Linked DNA regions of Homo sapiens: regions 2 and 3 are each linked to region 1. Evidence: promoter capture Hi-C in human tissues and cell types (Jung and others, 2019). All regions are on one chromosome and are shown on one strand. The core of a region is centred on a gene start or on the middle of the fragment in contact, and the rest is flanking DNA. Distances in the headings are between cores, read along the strand shown.

What was found. Contacts are between HindIII fragments. The study calls those that stand out against the background at their distance.
Region 2: a fragment that was not itself captured here is called in contact with the fragment with the promoter of IL17RA in region 1 in 1 of the 25 tissues and cell types used here (spleen).
Region 3: a contact is called between a fragment that was not itself captured here and the fragment with the promoter of IL17RA in region 1, in 1 of the 25 tissues and cell types used here (lymphoblastoid cells).

The regions. Positions count from the first base shown.
Region 1 is chr22:17,083,315-17,086,615 of GRCh38, reverse strand. IL17RA (interleukin 17 receptor A) reads right to left here and starts at 1,616. Exons shown (of 13, transcript NM_014339.7): 1 at 1,387-1,616. The coding sequence starts at 1,524. RefSeq lists silencers at 834-1,083, 1,124-1,223, 1,474-1,593, 1,614-1,833 and an enhancer at 2,387-2,556. The HindIII fragment of the contact is 17,220 bases long and covers 1-3,301 here.
Region 2 is chr22:17,592,518-17,595,818 of GRCh38, reverse strand. ATP6V1E1 (ATPase H+ transporting V1 subunit E1) reads left to right here. Exons shown (of 9, transcript NM_001696.4): 8 at 1,203-1,290; 9 at 3,083-3,301. The coding sequence ends at 3,145. Among named protein-coding and RNA genes, the nearest start is that of SLC25A18, 31 kb to the right of the region's middle. The HindIII fragment of the contact is 3,516 bases long and covers 1-3,259 here.
Region 3 is chr22:17,445,010-17,448,310 of GRCh38, reverse strand. The region is part of intron 1 of CECR2 (CECR2 histone acetyl-lysine reader); the gene reads right to left. Among named protein-coding and RNA genes, the nearest start is that of CECR2, 77 kb to the right of the region's middle. The HindIII fragment of the contact is 6,148 bases long and covers 1-3,301 here.

The DNA of each region.
Region 1 (3,301 bases), core at 367-2,866:
CTCTGGATATTAGGGTCCCCAGAGTATTTATTTATAGTTCCAGTTCCCAGTATGGCGCCCTGTACTCTGCAGGCACCTGACCAATGGCTGTCAACCCAGGCGCACCAACCCTCCATATCAGAACGCTTCATACACAGCCTGCAGGAGGGACTAGCAGGGCAGAGGGACCTGCTTTGCCCAATAGTGGAAGTCACAGGACATTTCTCAACATCATTCACGATAAAAACATCTTTTTTTTTTTTTCTGCGACATAGTCACTCACCCTCCACCTTCTTTCGGTAAATCCTCCATAAAACTACATAAGGAGAAATATCCCTTTGTTTTACATCCTCTGACTCAGATACTGAGCATTATTCCTTGGGGTCAGCGGTGGAGGTGGAGGTGGAGGTGGAGGGGAGGAAAGATCCCCTCGGGGATGCGGGGAAGAGGAGAGTATATTGTGGAGGGGCACGGCGTTTTGCTCTTTTTTTGTTTTTTTCCTTAAGATGGTCCTGGCTCACAGAAAGGCCACTACCCGGCAGGCGGGTGGGTCACTTCCTGTGGGCGCAGCGGGGCTACGACTTGACAGCTACAAACGTTCGACCCTCCGACTGCGCTCTCACCGGGTTCCCAGACCCAGGTGGTGGTAGTCGGGGGTGGGAGTGGCGGGAAGGGCGCCGTCTTAAGAACCATCTGCCCATCCTCAGGGCTTCGCGCCTCTGGGGAGGTGGCCCTCAGCCGCCCTCGGCAGAGCTCTCCCCGAAACATGGTGCCGCGTCTCAGCGCTCCGGCCCCCGCGTGGCTCTACGACAGCGGGGTCCCTCTGGGGGCCGCGGGTGAGGGACTCCACCTTCCGCACGGACGACGTGGGCTCGCCCGGCTCCGTCGGCGGCATGAAGGGCACGGCTTGAGGGAAGCTCCCGAGGGCGCGATGGGCCTCCCGAGGGCCGACCGTGCCCCGCCGGGGTACGTGAGGGGCGCAAGGCGTGGAGCTGGGTCCAGACCCGTCCTGGCTCCTCCCCGGGCCCCTTCTCCACAGCCCCTTTCTATCAGCCCTGGCCGCCCCTCCGGCCTGGCCCAGCGCCGCGCCCTCCTTCCCCGAACTCCGCGGCCCGGGCGGAGGTGTCACTCCCGCCTCCAGTCACGACGGCGGGCCAGGTTGTGCAACACGCGCCGCGCGATGTGCCACCCACCCCCCCCGTATTCCACACCGCAACTCCCACCGCTCCGAGGGTCCTCCCCAGGCGCCGCGATATCTGTGCCCAAGGCTCTGAGCCCCTCTAAGCCCGCGGCGCGGACTTCCTGCCTCCCCAGCCCGGGCGCGTAGTCCCGACCGTCCGGCCCTCCGCGACCTTGCCCCGCGTCCGCAGCATCCTGGCGGCTACCGCTCCCCACGTCGAGTCTCACCGGCTGGGAGCAGACCAGCGCCCGGTGGTCCAGGAGTCGCAGGGAGGCGCCACCCGGGGCCAGCACGCCCAGGAGCAGCAGGAGCAGCCCCAGCAGGGGCCCCGGGACAGCGGACGGCGGGCTGCGTGCGGCCCCCATGGCCCGGCTGGCGTCGCGGAGGGCTCGGCCCCGGCTGGGGACGCAGCGAACGAACGTTCTGAGGCTTTCTTTTCCGCGGTGGAGTTCGAGTCGGCTCCACTTTGCTCGCTTCCGGCTTCCAGCCCGGGCCCAGGGGCGGGCCGGGCCGAGGGGAGGAGTTTAGTCTGGGACGGGGAGGGGTTTAGGGTGAGACAGGGCCCTCCCCCCGTTCCTCCTTGCGCCCCTCCTCTCGGCCCTACGCTCAGTCCTCCGGGCGTCCCTACCCAGTCCTTCCGGCGTCCCTCCCCGGCCCTCCTCCGCCCGCGCGCCCCAGGTGCGCTCCTCCCGCTGCTCCTGGGCCTGGCCCGTCGCGCCTCCAGTTGCACCCGCGTCGGGCTAGCGTCAACTCCAGCTGGAGCCTCGCCTGCCCCACATGCACCCTCCACCCTGGCCGTGCCGCAGCAACTGTCGATTTTAATCCTCCGCCCCCACTCACTTGATTCTTGGCCCTGTTCAGACTTCTTGCTTCTCTTGTGGGTCACTGGACGTGAAATCCCAACTTGGGATTTCAGGAAGTCCGTTTTCTTAGTCTCTGTCCCTTTTATTTTTGTTTTTTATTTTACTTTATTTTTAGACAGGGTCTCCCTCTGTCTCCCAGGCTGGAGTGCAGTGGTGCAACCGCAGCTCACTGCAGCTTCGGCCTCCCGGGCTCAAGCGATCCTCCTGCCTCTGCCTCCTGAGTAGATGGAAGCGCGGGCCATATCCCATTTTATTGTCCCCACCCCTTTGCCTGGTTCTGCTCGCTCTGCTTTCCTTGGCTTTGCTTTCTCTTTCTCAAGACAAGGACAGCTCCGGGCTCCAGGGAGGATGGGACAGCAGTCACTTCCAGCCTCCTGGCTCGGACTCGGGGACACTTGAGTTCCTGGAGGGCAGGCAACTTACCTGGTCTGTGAGACTGTGTCCCAGCCGCACCTAAGAGAGTCGTTACTTCCCAGAGGCTCACTCCACGGCCGCGGAAGCTGTCGCCAGCGAATTACACATTTCATGAGTCTCCTTCTTAGCACGCGTGCAGCCTGCGTCCTCTCCTCTCCGGACCCTGGAGGACCCTCCCAAGCCGGCCCGCGCTGCCTCTATCCTAGGTTCCTGCTTCGAGCCCGTCCTGCCCTAGTGCATCCACACGCTCCTGCCCATTCGCCTCTCCTCTCTTCCTCCCAAGACCACCACCGTCCGCTTTTCCTTGCCTATCAAGTGCGCCTCTGCCTGGCCTTGACACGCACGGAGTCTACACTCAAGTGGCTTTTCCCTGTATTTTCCACTGCCCTCGAGAGGTGGGTTTTTTCGCTGCCCGAAGCACCCGCTGACCCCCAGCGACATCTCTATGAGCCCCGCCCGCAGACACGACCCAGCTGAATGAAGCCTGAAGCTCAGTGGCCTTCAAATTGTCTGTTTCTAAAAGAATTTTGGAAAACTGCATCCTCTCATGCATTTTAAAGATGACATCTAAAATTCTCCATCCTAAGTCTAAATAGATGTAGAGGATGTAACTGTTACTTAAAAATCAGCGGTTGTCGTAGGCAGCTTCTAAGATGTGTTCTAGGATCCCACCCCCTGGGAGTCACGACCTTCTGAATCCTCCTCGCGGAGTGTGGGATGGACCCAGAGGCTTGGTTCTAACAATAGAATATGAATAGAAGAAGACAAAAATGATGGGATGTCACTTACAAGATTAAGTTACAAAAAGATCCTGACTTCTGTCTTGCCCAGCCCCTCCCTCTGAGCTCCTAGCTCTTAGGGAAGC
Region 2 (3,301 bases), core at 252-2,751, 510 kb before region 1:
GTAAGGGTCTCTTTCTGTCACCCAAGCTGGAGTGCAGTGGTGTGATCTCGGCTTGCTGCAACCTCTGCCTCCTGGGTTCAAGCAATTCTCCTGCCTCAGTCTCTCAAGTAGCTGGGACTACAGGCACGCCCCACCATGCCCAGCTAATTTTTGTATTTTTAGTGGAGACAGGCTTTCGCCATGTTGGCCAGGCTGGCCTCAAACTTGAGTTTGGGAGCACCTCGGCCTCCCAAAGTGCTGGGATTACAGGGGTGAGCTACCACGCCCGGCCAGCAGTGGCATCTTTTATCAGACACACATGCAGTCGTGATAGGGCCTCATCAGTAATGAGCAGGATTGGGCTTAAGAAAACATTCAGATGAGGATTGAGTGATTTGCAAACTGAGATGAAATCCTCTCTTTTTCATTTTGTTGGGGAGGGCTGGCTGTGATAATTAAAACAGGTTTTGTAACATAAAATCAAATTGACACAGGCTGGGCGCGGTGACTCACTCCTGTAATCCCAACACTTGTGGAGGCAGAGGTGGGCGGATCACCTGAGGTCAGGAGTTCAAGACCAGCCTGGCCAACATGGTGAAACCCCGTCTCTACAACAATACAAAAATTAGCCAGGCGTGATGGCAGGTGCCTGTAATCCCAGCTACTGGGGAGGCTGACGCAGGAGAATTGCTTGAACTCGGGAGGCAGAGGTTGCAGTGAGCCAAGATCGCACCATTGCACTCCTGCCTGGGCAACAGAGCGAGTCTCAAAAAAAACAAAACAAATTGACACATAGTGTCACTTGGTAAATGACAGTTATTGAGATGAATACAGTCAGTTCTCTGTATCTTTGGGGTCCACACCTGTGAATTCAACCAACTTTTTCTTTTCACTCCCTAAACACTACGGTATAACAACCATTTACATCGTATTAGCTATTTTAAGTGCTGTAGACATGATTTGCAATATAGGGGAGGATGTGTGATGGTTGTATGCAAATACTACGCTGTTTCATATAATGGACATCTAGGCGGGGACTGGGGTTTCCTGAAACCAACTGTGCGTTACATCTTCAGAAGCTTTTTCAGTTCCTTTCAAGCCTGTTGCTTAGGTTGCGCAGTCTACACACCAAGACAAGGGCATTCCTCTGCGGGAGTAAAGGGTACCATGTATCTTTCTCAAGTCTTTGAAAATGATTATTTCCTGTGCTTTTTTTTTTGCAGAGCTGGTGGAGTTGAGATCTATAATGGAGATCGTAAAATAAAGGTTTCCAACACCCTGGAAAGCCGGCTGGATCTCATAGCCCAGCAGGTGAGTGTGGGGGTACTTCTTGGTAGTTGGTCTGCTGTTACTTTGAAGTGGGACAGAGAACACGTGTCCATTCACTGGTATTTGGGATTTGTTGCTGTCTTTCCAGTTTTGGACATTTTCTCAAAAAGAATGAGAATTGGGCATGTAGTAGCATTTGCTGAGGTGGTAACATTTACATGAGGGTGAATTTGGGGTCAGAACAAGTGTTTTGTTGACCTAGGATTCGAATATGTACATTTTACTACATGTAAGGTGCTGACAAGTTCTTTCTCTAACAGGAGTGATGGGAACTAAAGCAAATACTTGTGTTTTTTTGTTTTGTTTTGCTTTTTTGAGATGGAGTTTCACTCTTTTTTGCGCAGGCTGGAGTGCAGTCTTGGCTCACTGCAACTTCCACCTCCCAGGTTCAAGCGATTCTCCTGCTTCAGCCTCCCGAGTAGCTGGGATTACAGGCACCTGCCACCACACCCGGCTAATTTTGTATTTTTAGTAGAGACGGGGTTTCACCATGTTGGCCAGGCTGTTATCAAATTCCTGACCTCAGGTGATCCACCCGCCTTGGCCTCCCAAAGTGCTGGGATTACAGGTGTGAGCCACCGTGCTCAGACACAAATACTTATTTAAAGGAATTATCATAAAGCTGCTGGCTTTTCAGATGTTTCCAGATTTGTACACAGGAACTCTAGGAAACAAGCCAGGAAAATTCCATTTGTTCTAAAATGCTGGGCATCTTCTAGACTTCTAGTGGGAGTCTATTGCTGTGGCTGCCAACCTAGTTATTCCCTGACCTAGATATGCAGTTTACTGTTTATGCAGATACTTGTCTTATAACTAAAGCACTTTCACCTTGATTTTTTCATATTCTGGTAACTTAAACCTCAGAACATTGTTTCCTAGTAGCCACTGTCCCATCCAGTATCATAGCCACTACTCACTTACGGATATTTAATTAAACCGAAAAATTCAGTTTCTCAGCACACAATAACCATCTGTAGCTAGGACTGCCCTGTTGGACAGCCGAGCCTTGGAAGTCCAGGGTTAAGTTCTCCTAAGGATTCATCAGTGGCTGTAGCAAGTGCTTCCAGCCTAAGCTGGCATTGGAAGTGTTCTTTGCAGCTGCTGTGGCCATAGTAGGCACTCAGTAAATGTTTGTTGAAGAAAGAGTGTAGGTGACCCAGCATATTGTGGTGAGATGATTATGATGAGTTAAGTCTGAGATAGTAGTGACTTTAGGTTTTTTTTTGTTTTGTTTTTTTTTAATGTGTCCCTTTTGTAAGCAGTCTGAACCCCAGATTTGGGATGAGTTAAGTTTCTCACCAAGGAATGTGTTACTTGCTTCAGGGAAGGAGAGGGTGGCTTTGATGTGCGTGGCTTTGTGAGTCCTTCCCAGCCACATAGAGGTTCATGGCTTTCCACCTGTGGTTAAGATGTGCAGCACTCTGGCCAGGCTTGGTGGCTCACGCCTGTAATCCCAGCACTGTGGGAGGCCGAGGCGGGTGGATCACGAGGTCAGGAGATCGAGACCATCCCGGCTAACATGGTGAAACCCCGTCTCTACTAAAAATACAAAAAAATTAGCCAGGCATGGTGGCAAGCACCTGTAGTCCCATCTACTTGGGAGGCTGAGGCAGGAGAATGGCGTGAGCTTGCAATGAGCGGAGATGCGCCACTGCACTCCAGCCTGGGCGACAGAGCGAGACTCCGTCTCAAAAAAAAAAAAAAAAAAAAGATGTGCAGCGCTCTACAACTTCTTCAGCTGACATTGCGTATTTATTACACTTTCTCTCCACAGATGATGCCAGAAGTCCGGGGAGCCTTGTTTGGTGCAAATGCCAACAGGAAGTTTTTGGACTAAGCCTTCAGGAGGTGGAGCTCGTCGTCAGCTCTCCTGCTGTGATGTGGAAGCTTCTGATATTTGAAGAAACACGAATGTCTCTGTAGCTTCCTCTTCACTGCCCCAGTATTGCTCTGTATTTATCAGCGATGCCCCTCTGTCACTCATGCCTTGCCT
Region 3 (3,301 bases), core at 449-2,948, 360 kb before region 1:
TCAACTAATCTGCCCTGATTGTTCCTACTAGCCCACCTGTTTAATTTGCTGAAAGTAGTCATATCCAACCAGTTTTTAGTCATGGATGTGTAGTACACACATCTCACATCCTTCTCGTTTGAGCTAATTACATGTGGTAAAAGTATAGTGATTATTATCTGACATGAAAAGGAATTTAAAATACAGACGTTACCGGCAGTCTATTCATCTCCCAGTACCTAAATATCTATTTGTATTTTCTCCGGAAAACTATTTAAAAATAGTGTAAATCCATTCCTTAAAACTCTCTAAAAAATTGTTACCCAACATTATCTCAAAGTATTAAGATGGAAATTGCTCTAATGGACCTGTACCTGTTCTCTATTTGCACTGTCCAACACAGCAGCCACGAGCCACATAGCCACTTAAAAACAAAAACAAACAAACAAAAAAAAAACACTTGAAATGTGGCTACCATGGCTAGAGAACTAATCTTTACATTTTATTTAAGGTAAACTTACACAGCTGCCAGTGGCTAATACATTGGACAACAGGGCTCTGAACAATTGTTCTCAATCCTGGCTGCACACTAAAACTGCCACGGAGAACTTTTTAGATCCTAATGAGTAAACTAAAGCCCCCCACCGCCCCCGACCCCCGGCTTTTCTTTTTTTTTTTTAAGTCTCTGGGCATGGGACTCAGGCATAATATGTGATTTTATTTTATTTATTACTCCTATGTGATTTTATTTTATTAATTACTATTTATGAATGAACTAATGAATGAATGACAAGTTCTTGCTCTGTTGCCCAGGCTGGAGTGCAGTGGTACTGTAAACGCACCAATCAGCACTCTGTGTCTAGCTAAAGGATTGTAAACAGCCGGGCACGGTGGCTCACGCCTGTAATCCCAGCACTTTGGGAGGCCGAGGTGGGTGGATCACGAGGTCAGGATATCGAGACCATCCTGGATAACACGATGAAACCCCGTGTCTACTAAAAAATACAAAAAATTAGCTGGGCGTGGTGGCAGGTGCCTGTAGTCCCAGCTACTCGGGAGGCTGAGGCAGGAGAATGGCGAGAACCCAGGAGGCGGAGCTTGCAGTCCCGTCTACTAAAAAACACAAAAAATTAGCCGGGCATGGTGGCCAGCACCTGTAGTCCCAGCTACTCGGGAGGCTGAGGCAGGAGAATGGCGTGAACCCGGGAGGCGGAGCTTACAGTGAGCAGAGATCCCGTCACTGCACTCCAGCCTGGGCAAGACAGCGAGACTCTGTCTCAAAAAAAAAAAAAAAAAAAGATTGTAAACGCACCACTCAGCACTCTGTAAAAATGCACCAATCGGCACTGTGTCTAGCTAAAGAACTGTAAACACACCAATCAGCACTGTGTAAAAATGCACCAGTGTTCTGTAAAATGGACCAATCAGCGCTCTGTAAAATGGACCAATCAGCAGGATGTGGGCGGGGCCAAATAAGGGAATAAAGCTGGCCACCTCACAGCGGCAACCTGCTCGCATCCCCTTTGTGGAAGCTTTGTTCTTTCGGTCTTCATAATAAATCTTGCTGCTGCTCACTCTTTTGTGTCTGCACCACCTTTTTGTTTTGTTTTGTTTTTGAGACAAAGTCTCGCTCTGTCACCCAGGCTGGAGTGCAGTGGCAGGATCTCAGCTCACTGTAAGCTCCACCTCCCAGGTTCACATCATTCTCCTTCCTAACCTCCTGAGTAGCTGGGACTACAGGCGCCCGCCACCACACCCGGCTAATTTTTTGTATTTTTAGTAGAGACGGGGTTTCACCGTGTTAGCCAGGATGGTCTCGATCCCCTGACCTCGTGATCCGCCCGCCTCGGCCTCCCAAAGTGCTGGGATTACAGGCAAGAGCCACCGCGCCCTGGGGGTCCACACCACCTTTAAGAGCTGTAACACTCACCGCTAAGTTCCGTGGCTTCGTTCTTGATGTCAGTGAGACCAAGAACCCACCGGAAGGAACCAACTCTGGACACAGCACAATCATAGCTAATCATAGCTCCTAGGCTCACTCAATCCTCCTGCCCCAGCCTCCTGAACAGCTGGGACTATAGGCATGTGCCGCAACACCTGACTTGGGATTTTTAAGTGTAGCTAAAATAAAACAACTACTGCTCCAGAACAGTGTTTTTCAGTGTGCACAGAAAGCACCTCCTGAGTTTTTTTTAATGGCTATTTTGATTCATCTAGGTCTGGAGTGAGGTATCTGTAAACAAGCTCCTAGGTGATGCTGGCACCATTGATCCAAGGACTGTGCAGTTCACCCTCCACATCCACAGGGCCCATGCTGGCAGATTCAACCAACCATGAACAGAAAACATTCGGGAATAATACAAATAAAAAACCAACATGGTGTAACAGCTATGCATATAGCATTATAGCATTTACATTGTGTAATCTAGAGATGGTTTAAAGTATACAGCAGTGGCCAGGTGCAGGGTCCCAGCACTTTGGGAGGCTGAGGCAGGAGGATCACTTGAGGTCAGGAGTTCGAGACCAGCCTGGCCAACATGGCAAAACCCCATCTCTACTAAAAATACAAAAATTAGCCAGGCATGGTGGTGCCCGCCTGTAATCCTAGCTACTCAGGAGGCTGAGACAGGAGAACTGCCCGAACCTGGGAGGCAGAGGTTGCAGTCAGCCAAGATTGCAGTCAGCCAAGATTGCACCACTGCACTCCAGCCTGGGCGACAGGGTGAGCCTCTGCCTCAAATAATAATAATAATAATAATAATAATAATAATAATAATAATAATAATAAAGTATAGAGCAGAATGTGCATAGGTTATATGTAAATACTATACCATTTTATATAAGGAAATTGAGCATCCACGAATTTTGGTATCCACAGGGGTCCTGAAATCAATCCCCCATGGAAACTTAGAGATGACTGCACTTTGAACAGCAAGGCTCTTGAACCAATTAAACTGTTATGGCATCCAATTCATGAGTTCATTTATTATTTTCTAGAGGCAGGGTCTCGCTCTGTCACCTAGACTGGTCTCCTGGCCTCAAGCAATCCTCTGACCTCAGCCTCCCAAAGTGCTGAGGTTACACGCAATGAGCTACCACACCTGGCTGCATCAAATTCTTCTCAAGGAAATGAAAACCTATAGATCTTAGGTCATAAAGTATAATGCTTCCCTTACATACAACAATTAGACTTATAACTTAATATGAGGTATATGAATAGTCTAACAAATCCAAATTGTGAATATGTACTATAGTATTCAAAAGCATTTAAGGATATAAAAGTAGCAAAATAAAGAGAAAAATAAAATTATAGCTGTTTGAG